Regions from separate parts of the Homo sapiens genome. Here region 1 is linked to region 2. Evidence: promoter capture Hi-C in human tissues and cell types (Jung and others, 2019). All regions are on one chromosome and are shown on one strand. Each heading gives the region's core, a stretch centred on a gene start or on the middle of the fragment in contact. The rest is flanking DNA. Distances are from core to core; before and after follow the strand shown.

Region 1 (5,941 bases), core at 208-2,707, 270 kb before region 2:
TGGGCTTGAAAGTATCTGGCAGTCAAATATTTCATACCTAGTCTCCAGATTTCCACACAGAAAGTGTTTAATCCGGTTCCAGTTTAAAGGTATAGTTGACTCAGGCTTCCTTTAATATACAAAACTCAGTGACTAGCCCAATCAGTACCTTCTGAGTATGTAACTTGAAAATCCAGGTAAGTTAAAAGTTCATATAATTTACAGAAATTACAGGGTTAGTAAGTTTTGAATAAATCTCCACCTACACGTATGGGTCCCCAAATTTAATCTGACTGGAAGTGCCCTGGAGTGCGGCATTTGGTTCACCAGGTTACATCCCCACTTACGGCACAATCTAGCATAGAATAATCACTCCACAATTCTTTCTTAAATAAATGGGAGAAGTCTAGACAAATGCTAATTCTTTACAGGATTACCACAATCATTTAAATTTTCTAACACAAGGTTACGATGATATAAAATAAAAGCATTCTAAATGGTGAGGAGAGTAAGAAGATATTTATGTCAAGAGTGGAAGGAAGGGAGAGAGAAGAGTGCAGAGACTGCCCAAGGAATGGCCTGGCCGGACAGGTATTTAGAAAATGTCTTCCCCTCTTTGACCAAGTATTGGCTGAAAGGAGTGCAGTCCAAACTGTAACCAAAGGAGGCATTATGCTTCCTGAAAAACATCCAGTAAAGGCATTGCAAGCAATGATAGTAACTGCTGGACTGGGCTTTAAGGAAAAGAGTGGAGAGATTTTACCCATTAGCATAAGGGTTGGAAATAAAGTTTTTCTCCCAGAATATGGAGGCACCAAAGTAGTTCTAAATGATGAGATTATTTCTTATTTAGAGATGGTGACATACTTGGAAAGTCCGTAGACTGAAATAAATCACTATTGAAATGGTGTCACATGAAGTTGCCCATTCCATTGAAGCTCTGAAATCTTTCCACATGTAAATAACTTCTGTGTTTCTCTTTTATAATAAATTAATGACATTCAAAAAAGTGGAGGAATCCTTGTAAATTTCCCTGGTAATCAGAAGTTATTTCTCTATTTAATATCCTCTCATTGTAATTTTTAGAGAAATTCCTCTGACATTAAATATTAACTCGCATGATTAATTTGTACATAGGTTGCCCAAAAACTTATCTTTTACTCCTGAGGACAACAGTATATCACACTTATTGGACCATAAGCTCCATAATTGAGGTTATATTTGAGGTTTTTCCAAATTTAACTTTTCTTTAAATTTATGCCTAGTTAACTATGCCTGTTGACTCTGGACGGTTGCCTGAGGATTACGGTCCAGTGAAAGAAACCTGAACTTCCATTATTTACATTTTTAGAAAAAGCTAAATAATTGTCCTTCAATTATTTTTCACTCTGAGAAACTTTGTAAGAATCATTTTGACCAAAAAGTGAAATACTAAAAACACTGTAATGTTTTGGCTTTAACAAATTTTAATAAAACTCAAACATTTGAAAATATTCTAGAACTAACTTTAAATACTTTAATTTTGTCTCACAAAGTGACCAAAAAGTGGTCACTGATATTTATCAGTTATAATTCACAGCAGTCTTTTCTCACCTTTGCCATCTCAAACTTCCTGAGACTTCTTTTCTGGAGGTTATTCTAACCGAAATAGCACTTTATTTAAACACACAGGATTCTCTTCTGTTGGGGGAGGGTAGTTTGGGCATCTGCCTTCTCTGCAGTTGGGCAGGATGCAGTGAAGTGTCTATTAGGAGGATTTAAATTTGTATCTTTTAAGGAATTATGTGAGGAACAGCTGCTACTATATATGTTGCAGTATCTACTGAAAGAATGGAGTGTCAAATTAGATGGTTCGGTTTTTTTTTTTTTTTTAAGAAAAGCACCCTGAGAGCTTAAATATTCAACATCAACAATGACAACATAATAAGCTAATGTTAGAGTTACTCTCTTGAGGAATTCTTTTTGTCAACAAGAGTAGAAATCATTTAATTCCAGTTATGGAGCCCAAGACAATTTTTGGCTGTAAGAGGTTTATTGAAATAAAAAGTTGTGTGAAAGTAAAACTGCCTTTCAAAGTCAGATGCAGAAGGATAGGGCGCTATGTATGTAACTGTACTGAATGCTTTTGAAAGCTACTGTTTTGATTCTATTGGTTTTAGTGCTTGTTTACTCAAGTCAGTAAAAATCATTTATGTTTCCTTGGGCACTTTATCTGGATGTGCAAGCATTTGTGTGGCACGCATATACAGTGAGAGTTCAATTTATCTGCAGAAACTCAATTATTTTATTGATTAAGTACAGTATTGTTGAATAGCTAAGTTCTAGGGTTTGAGTCAAATGAAATTCTTATCACATTCTAAAACACAACTAAAAAGCTATATACTCAGAGAAGAGAAAGTCAATACCAGTATTTTCTCATGAACTACTTCTACCAAAGATCCTGCCAGGTATTTTTGAAATACATATAACATAGTACCTGAACTAAAATAAATGTCTTTAAGTGCCATACATGACTACAACATGTTTTTGATATACCAATATTCATTTCAAACTTGCTAGTTAGTTACAAATTCATTATATGCTACTTTCACCTTCTCACTGCAGTGTTCTTTTAAAAGTTGGGTAGCAAATTTATTCCATCTGGCTTCTAATGTGCCACTACAAAAGCTAAAAGTTCATTTATTCCACTTATTTCCAGTAAAAAATAATTAACCAAATGAAATAAGCACTTTTACTTGGATACTACCACATAAAATTTCTTTTTTCTTTTTATACCTTTGAAAAGACTAATAATATTAAGATCCTCTTTACAATGCAACTCATCCATACTGATCAACAGAAAAACTAACCCCAAAAGTTATCGCTGTATGTAAAAAATTCAAGTTGTGGAAAGGTTAAGGTGTTTGTTATTACCAGATATATATATATAAAATCATTCTGTATTCATAAGTAGCAGGATCAATTTAAATCAGGTTTTAGAGAGGTGATTATTATTTGTTATCTAAAACTGAAAGCTTGCCTAGTAATATGAGCTTTCATACTGTCCACTGTAGAAAAAAAAGAATGCCGCTTTAAACAGACAGTAATTGTATTATTCAGTAAAAACATGACTCACCATAGAGAAAAACAACAACAACAACAGCAAAATGCTATTACACAGATTTCAGCACACACATTTATGGAATGTACTGAACCACTCATTTTTACTCTCATGTCTCAAATATAACTCAAACTGGATTTAAGACCTTGTCATTTAAAAAAAAAAACTTTCTAACTGGCGTGTTGGTGGGAGTGTAAATTAGTTCAACCATTGTGGAAGACAGTGTGGCAACTCCTCAAGCATCTAGAACTAGAAATACCATTTGACCCAGCAATTCCACTACTGGGTATATACCCAAAGGATTATTAATCATTCTACTATAAAGACACATGCACATGTATTTTTACTGCAGCAATGTTCAATAGCAAAGACTTGGAACCAACCCAAATGCCCATCAATGATAGACTGGATAAAGAAAATGTGGCACATATACACCATAGAATACTATGCAGCCATAAAAAATGATGAGTTCATGTCCTTTGCAGGGACATGTATGAAGCTGGAAATCGTCATTCTCAGCAAACTAACATAAGAACAGAAAACCAAACAATGCATGTTCTCACTCATAAGTGGGAGTTGAATAATGAGAACACATGGACACAGGGAGGGGAACACCACACACTGGGGCCTGTGATGGGGTGGAGGGCTAGGAGAGGGATAACATTAGGAGAAATACCTAATGTAGATGACGGGTTGATGGGTGCAGCAAACCACCACAGCATGTGTATATCTATGTAACAAACCTGCACGTTCTGCGCATGTACTCCAGAACTTAGAGCATTAAAAAAAAAAGTTATTTAAGTAACTCAATAACTTGGCTTTTCTTTCTCACACACTTGTAAAATTTTCAGCAAAGGATGGGTCAGAAGTATGTGCTCTGGAGCCACGCAAATCTGCTTCAAATTCCAGTTCTGCCATTTAGATAGCAGGTAACTTTAGATGTGATTTGTATGTTGTGGACCATACAGTTTCTCCCTTGCATAAATAATGTGATAAACACATTTACTTCAATACATTGTTAAGTAATTAATGGAAAGTCCAACATAAAATATCTAGAACAAGGTAGGGGTTCAGTAGTAGTAATCTCCCTCTCAATTCATAATATGACTATAGATAAAAACTTTAATTATGAAACTATGAGATAAAAAATAAATTTAAACATGCCATCTGAAAAAAAATGAAAGAGAAATCTCTATTTCAGCATAGTTATGCTTGACTGAGAAGTACTTCTGCCAAGAACCTGAACTATTTAGTTATTTCGAATTCTATTATCTGAATGTCTAATAACCTAGGTCATTAGCACACAGATGGCATACTTTATTGCAGTACACATTCAACTACTCTGAGGCTATTTTTCCTTGGGTCGTTTCATTTTGCTGTTGATTTTTATTTTCTATTCCTCTTATTTGCCATTTAGACACTGTCTTGCCATTTGAGGTTGAAAATAGAAACATAATTTTTAAAATGAGAAAATAAATGCATTTAAATGCATCAAATGTGCTTAAATAGTTCTAGCACTGTTTTATCCAGAAGGGAAAGAAACGGGGAATGATAATGTTAGCTAAAGTTAAGTTTCAGATTATCCACAAAATTAATTGATCCACGCTATCACCATGAATAGTGTCTGTGAATATCGTTTAGTGATTAACCTAGATAGGTTCCGGGTTAATAATCTGGAAGAGCTAATGCTGAAACACTAAAAGAACCAAGAGTCATGTACAGCTGTGGACAGTAAGGACAGCAAAGCCAACAATCTCCTCTTCAGAGACATTTTTGTTCTACATATGTATTATTCATGAACACAAATTAACTTTCTGCTTATATTTGTATATACAATTTTTCCTCTTGACAAGAACTTTATGCTTCTCTTGAGCTGAATTTTTATCTTTCTGTTTTCTCGAGGTTATCTACAGATACAGAAACCATCTAGGAGGTCTGGTGTTGGATACAACTATTTGTACCTTGTAAAATTCTTACCTCTAAATCATTAAAAAACAAATGAGTATCAGCAAGATTAAAAATCATTTCTTCCATGCGGAGTCCAAGGGTTACAGCCATGGGGGGATCCTGTAAAGAAAATGTACACATAATGAGGTAAAATTTCAGTAAGCGCTTATTATTAAAAATATTTTAAGCACATATTGCTGTGGTGGAAGAGGGAGAAGACTGCATGGGTTTTTACTGAAGATTCAAAAGATTTCTCAGTTTTCCAAAAAGGTGACTTTCCAGAAGGTTCAGACATACCAAATGCACAGACACACCTGGGAATTCAGACATACGTAACGATGACTCAGCATACATTTTCACATAAAGCTGTATGTTGAGGAGAGAAGGAGGAAGGAAATCAGCTAGTTCATATGACCCAGTTTACATATAATCTATGGAAAGTATTCTGGAGAAAGGTATTTGGATGGGGTGCTGAAGAATGGAGCAAACTTACTAAAAAGAAAGGATGTCTTTTTAAGAATAATGACAAATAATAAGAATTAAAAGATAGAGAAAAATAGGTCAACTGGGTATTTATAGGACTTGAGTAGAGAATGTTATCTGGAGGTGAAACAGGAAGAGCTGGCAGAGGATGGTGCGACCATCACTTAATTTTTAATTGCATTTTTATCAACAAGGTAAGAGGAATCTCCCTATCCAAACATGTGTAGAGTTTGGTCTAACCTGCATTTGACTAAGGTTGAAGAAGGGAGGGGTGAGAATAGCTAAAAGAACATTAGTTCTCTAAGTGTAATCCAGGTAAAAAATATATGCTTTGGGAAGTGATGGGGTCAGTAAAGAGTTAAAATGACTCAATTTTTGTTTACAGAAACCAAGATATTAAACAGCAGCAAGAAGTCGAAAATCAAGACCAGA
Region 2 (6,194 bases), core at 1,976-4,475:
GACAAGTAACTCATCTGCCAGTCACCCGTCAAAAAAGAAACTTCTATGCAATTTTTTTCTCCAGCTTCTAGAAACCCTCTGAAATTCAGCATCTATTTTTCTTAACAATTAATAATTATTATTCCTTTTTATACAATCACTCCTTTTTATACAAATCTTAAGATTTTAAAAATTTTAAAACTTAAGCCTACTACTTAAAAGAAGTGTTAATTGTGAGTACATACATATATGTGAGACGTTTTATTTTGGAAATGAGAAATTCAATTTCAAATATTCAACAAATACTAATAAAAAGAAAACAACTGAGTAAATCTTATTTTAGTTATAATTGTGAACCAACCGGTAGTTACAATGGTCTTTAAATATTGAAACATACTATTTTCAGGAAATTTACAAAGGAAAACAGGCTTTTGAAAACCATATTGATTGTAGACCTTTACTTATTATGAAAGACAAGTACATATCACTAATAATCAGAGAAAGGAGACATTTTCAACAAATCTAATTATGTTGCTTTCAAAGCTGTAGCTGTCAAAGGTTTTAACATTCTTGTACAGTCATTCCTAAATACGGGTTTAACTTTGAATGACTTACAACTTTTAATCAGGTGGAACAAACTATTTTTACGGTTTATAACAATAAATGTGGGTGTAGTTATGTCTGCTTTCGATATTGTTGCCATAAAAATCAGATTCTGGCAGTCTTGCTCCACACAAAACAATCTGTCTCTTGTTACTACTGCTTTTTGTTTCTTGGGATAATGTTATTTTTAAAAATACACAAATGTCTTTGAATGCAGTCTCCTAAAACGCTCCGTATCACGTATCAAATATTTTTTGGGGGGATTCTCTCCCCACCCCCTCTAGTTTTTGGTTCTTCAGGTTTAAGCTTGCCAATAATATTTTAAAAGACAAAAAAAAAAAAAAAGGCACTGATTCTGCTTAAAACCAAACCGTACCCGGGAAAGGAATTCAAGTACAATCCCTTCCCTAAGGTTTTAAAAACAAAAACAACGCAACAAACAAAAAAACCATCGTCAACTTTCAATCCTGTCAGTCACCTACGTGTAAGTGAAACTTCAGAAGCTGCTGATGGGGAGCCCGCGGTTGTTAAACGCTCCTAAGACTCCCACCTAAATCCCGCAGGAGCCCGCACTGAAACTGACAAACACCCGAGGGTTCACAAAGTGGCCACAGATGAGAAGAGGAACAAAATGCCATATTCCAGGAGGTGTATTTCGCTCCAACAATTACGTTGATCCCAGGGTGCCAAGCCAAAAGGGGTAAGGGAGAAAGAAAACTGTTAAGTATGAGCCCTTAATGTGAAACCTAACCTGTTGGTTCTCTTAGGTATCAGATTTTGGAAGTGTCTGTAATGACAGCCAGGAAAGCAAACTAATGGCCAACGGCCCACTGGGTTTGAACACCAGAGTCCTGTTACCTCCTCACAGATCAAGTACACAACACACACACACACACACACACACACACACGAAGTTGCTCCACGTGGAACTGCTCTGGAACCAAAACACACGCCCGGGCGCTATTCTGCACCTTGGCAGAAAGGGCAGAGGGACCTGCACCTTCCTCCCCTGCCCTCAGGTTAAGATTCATGAATGACTCTCTAGGCCCGCTCGGGATGGCGGGGAGAGGCGCAGGAGACGCGGTGAGAGAGGACAGTCTCCACACCACTCTCCCGCACACACTCTCACCCCAGGCGCAAATCCGTTGTCTTCATAGGAAGGAGAAAGAGGGGTGGTGGTGAAGGGAAACACTATCCTCCCAAGCAGGGAAGAGATGACAAAAATTAAATTGCGCTCTCTGCTTTCGCCCCAGCTCTGCCACCGGACTCGGTCCGCAAATTCCCTAATCGCTCCGAGCTGTTCAGAATCTCGCAAACAAAGGGAGAAAACTCTTTCAAGTGCTACCAAACGAAAGTTCGGGTTGCTGTGCGGCGCAGAATAAAACAAGCACACACACGTCTACTTCCAAACCTCGCTTCACCACGCTAAAAATCCGAGCCATTTCAAGTTCCACTGCCTCCCCAGACCCAGCAGGCTTGGAAGGAGAGAAAAACCTGCTCTACCCAGCCAGGTCCCTTCCTTTGGAGAAGTTATAAGCCTTCCATGGCACCCGCTACTCGAGCCAATGAACGCGACTGCTCTGACAAGGCGCCTCTAATTTCACCGACCCTGGCAAACTGCAGGAGACATTCAGTCCACGCCACATAAAAACTATTAAAGTGGGATCGCCGCAGTTGAAAAGCCCGATCAGTGCCTGGAGATTAGAACGCGAGCCTTTAAAGTACACACGCACCCGGCACCGGGAAAGCCCAGGCGCCTGTGACCCTCCGAAGGACTCTGGGTCAGCATCCTCGCGCCTGGACCATCTAGGGGGTCATCAGAAAGTAATACACGTCATAAGAAAGATGTGGGGGAGACCCCGATGCTCGCGCCTCTGCCAGGTGGAGGCGGGGTGCAGGTAGAAGCCGCGCGCTGGACTGCTGGATGAACTCCGTTACGCGCAGGCTCCGCGCCGACCCCGGAAGGGACAGGCAGGCTCGGAAGGGACCCTTGGGGCTTGGGGACGTCTTCTAGGGCAGAGAGCACCGCTGCGGTCCGAGCGGCCCGGGCCCTCAGGCGTGGGGCACCCGGCCTCCAAGCGCCCCCCGGGGACGCAGGCGCCCACGCACCGTCCAGCTGCGCGTCCTCAGTACCCAGCGCTCGGCGTCCCCGGCGGAGCCTCGCGCACTTTCCCGGAAAGTTTGGGGGTTCTCTCAACTCAGGCTCCCCCGGGAGCCCTGGGGCGGGGGTTGGAAGAAGGGGTCACTCACCTCGTCGCCCGGTCCGCCTCGGGTTCCCGAAGTGTCTGTCCCAGCCGCGGTTCAGTGCGTCCGTAATTAAGTATTTATTCTCGTTCCTTCCAGTGTCGAAGTTTCCCCTTCGCGCTGTGCCTCTGGTGAAAACAGGACATCCCCTTCGGCCACCCCACAACAAATAGCGTACACAAGCGGGGGAGAAGCGGGGCGGAGGGAGAAGCCGGCTCCGAGGGGGAGGAGGAAAGGAGAGGAGCCAAAACTCCGGACTGCGACAGGGGGGAAAGGAGAAGAAAAGAAAATGAGAGAGCGCGCCCAGCCGCCGCAGTCGTCACTCCCCGGCTTTTCCCGCAGCTCTTTCCCCCTCTCTAAGGCAGCGACAACTTCACGTGGACAGGATGGAAGTTTTGCGCGGAAGCCGGGAACGGCCGGAGCGTGCGCCGCGCTGCCGGCAGCCTCGCACTTGCGCAGGGAGGTGGGGCGGGGGCGACGTCGCCACCGGCTACTGCGGGCTCGTGAGGCCGCCGGGGGCCTCGGGGGAGGCCGCCAGGGACGCGGGGGGCGGCGGCGCGCGGGGGACCCACTCCGTTTTTATTTGACCTCGGGTGACTGCCTATTGTCATGGTTTGCGATCTCGCGTGGGGACCGCCCAGGGCCTCGGGGCCCTGGATGTCCCGGGTGGCGCCGCCGTAATCTCCGTGCCCTCCGCGCCGCCCCCACCCCGCCCCCACCCGGGCCGACTCGAGCGGCTGCAGCCTCCAGGCTGAGGGGAGGGACCCGCGACCGCGCTCTCCTCCCTGGGCCGGAGAGCCACTGTCGATCCCCACCTGCTTCTGTGGGGCAGCCCCCGGAATTGCCTGGAACTCTCTCGCTACCCAGTTCCCCTGTGCAGGCCACTGCGGGCCCCCTGCCGGACTCCTTTCCACTTACCCCAAGGGAGGAGACAGAAGGGACTTCGCCTACTTGCAACAACGTGAAATAAAAACCAACCCAGACCAGACTGGGGCGCTTTTTCTGACGGGAGGAAATACCCTTTTCCGTGGAGATATATGTTATGAAGGACTAAGCGGTCTGGGGATAGGCTGTGCTGCGAAGGGCCTGGGCCCCTTCCAGTGCTGCTGGGTGCAGGTATAGGCATCCGTCCCAGACGCCCAAAGGTCAGGCAGCAACGACTTACTTCCAAGGCGGCGTCAGAGCTTCTCTAGGCACATTGCTGAAATGACATTTCGTGTCTAAGCCTTCTGCGCATGCACTACGCGACTACATAGGATTTACGATTTTATACCCACACGTGTGTATGCCACAACCAGGGGACACAGCAAAGGTAGACGGAATAAACAATCCATAAATTTTGCATCCATTTAATCACCTCTTCCAAAAACCTATTGTCTATTTTAGCGGCACCTTCTCTGTCATATTGATAATAAATGTTTTAATTTATTGATAAATCACTGAGTGTCAATCATTGTATTGGTCACTTATGGTACATGAGTTCATTTAACTTCCATGACAACTCTACGGTGGTCATTATTAAGCCGGTATAAAAGATGAGGAAACCAAAGCCCAAAGAATCATGAGTGACTTTTCCAAAGACAAATCCAGTGGTCTCTAATCACAAAGCCTATGATACAACAACCTCTACATTACCTTAGGTGTGGTCTAAGAGATTACAGATTAATCCGTAGAAATTACTCCCATTCAAAGAAAGTTTAGTTTTAATATATTCACTAAGTTACGTTCTGAAAAAGGTTCAGAAAAAAGATTTCATCCTCTACTTTAGGTTGGTCTTATGCAACTGATATGAGCACTGTCTAATTCAAAAGCAGTATCAACCCTGAATACTTATGGTTACAATTTATTTTTTAATGAGTGGGGAATTATCTACAATGCTTAAGAGGCTCTAGAAAAGGTGGTGTTGTAAATTTAAAATGATAAAGGCAGTCGTTGCTGCTCTCATCACTTACTGGGTGTTCTTTCCTGCAGATTTATTTTGGAGGGTGTAGGCATTGCCAGGCATAATGTTTCCTTTTCTGGTTCTCAAGGTAGAAAGGGTTCTGGCAGTGGGGTTGGCACAAAGCGGATTTGGAGCATGGTTGAGAGCACATTCTGGCCTAACGAGGAATGCCAGTTAATATACACTGGAGAGAAAAATATGAATGGACAGATTTAATTAATTTTGCAGATTTATTTTCTCCATTTCACATGTGAGAAAACTAAGGGCTCAGAATTTTTAGAAGCTTGCTAATAAATGGCAGACCTGAGTTTCAAGCCAGCCTTTATTTAAGTCCACTCTTAGTCACTGTGATGCTATTATTAGTATTAATGGTATTCAGAAAAATAGTAATTCTTTTAAATATGTAATATATTACAAGCCAAATATGCAATTTAAATGTTTTGTGAATCATAGTGTCTAAGAATGTTCTGTGGCTATAGCAAATATCATGTAAGGATTAAGTACAATGATGAATTTAATACTGTCCTCAAAAGGCAACAACATTTTGAATTTCATTTTGGCATAAAACATTATGTGCTAGTTTCACCTACAAATAAAGGTGGGAGATGTATGATTTGAATAAAATAAAAATTCATACTTTAGCATATTGTTAACATAAATATAGGGTGGGTTTTCTTAGCATGTTTCTTTGTACCCTTCTAAAGTCAGATTTTTCAGTTACACTGACCTTGCTTTCAAGGTCACTTTGCTCCTGCATAGTTTTTTGTACATCTAGATAAGAATACATGTACAGAAATTATTTTTAAAATCCAGGATAATATATTAGTTATTTGACTTCATATTACTACCTTCTAATAGTTGTCTTAAATATACATATATTAACATGGACACCACTAGGTGTCAGATAAAACGTCAATTTTCAGTACACATTTGAAATAAGTTTAACATAGGAAACAGAATTTTAGGGTTATAAAGGCAAAAATGTATTGTTTGCTTAAATGAGGCCTTATTTCCAGCATTTACATTGAATATCACTTTTATAATTATAGCCATATCGCCTATATTATTGACTTAATATGTATCTTTAAATAATCTATTTTTATTAAATAAGTTTATCTGATAAAGGACATTTTTTATAGTCACCATAAATGGAAAACTAATAAAACCCGCCATGAATAGAAGATGATCTTGCAAAGGAACCTATATTGTAGAAATAAAAGTTATTTCTCATGTACCACCTAAAATTATCTCACATACAGTTTGAGAAACATTGGTTTAAAGAATTACATTCCATATGTCCCTCAGGCTCACCAAGAGATATTTTCAAGCCTCCCCTTTTCATAACCGGAACAAAATGTTGTGTCCAATTTACTTTGAGGTATTACTTTTTAAATTCTGTGCTTATTTAATTATTGCTTTTCTTGTC

What was found. Contacts are between HindIII fragments. The study calls those that stand out against the background at their distance.
Region 1: a contact is called between a fragment that was not itself captured here and the fragment with the promoter of EYA4 in region 2, in 1 of the 25 tissues and cell types used here (thymus).

The regions. Positions count from the first base shown.
Region 1 is chr6:133,505,311-133,511,251 of GRCh38, reverse strand. It overlaps EYA4 (EYA transcriptional coactivator and phosphatase 4), which reads right to left. Exons shown (of 20, transcript NM_004100.5): 14 at 5,057-5,146. It overlaps TARID (TCF21 antisense RNA inducing promoter demethylation), which reads left to right. Exons shown (of 9, transcript NR_109982.1): 7 at 3,931-4,008; 8 at 4,982-5,173. It also overlaps the pseudogene HSPE1P21. Among named protein-coding and RNA genes, the nearest start is that of EYA4-AS2, 52 kb to the right of the region's middle. RefSeq lists an enhancer at 4,902-5,941. The HindIII fragment of the contact is 8,455 bases long and covers 1-5,684 here.
Region 2 is chr6:133,238,388-133,244,581 of GRCh38, reverse strand. EYA4 (EYA transcriptional coactivator and phosphatase 4) reads right to left here and starts at 3,225. Exons shown (of 20, transcript NM_004100.5): 1 at 2,833-3,225. It overlaps LOC124901231 (serine/arginine repetitive matrix protein 1-like), which reads left to right. Exons shown (of 3, transcript XM_047419612.1): 2 at 2,171-2,363; 3 at 2,926-4,262. The coding sequence ends at 3,796. RefSeq lists enhancers at 1,095-1,987, 1,988-2,882. The HindIII fragment of the contact is 6,618 bases long and covers 1-6,176 here.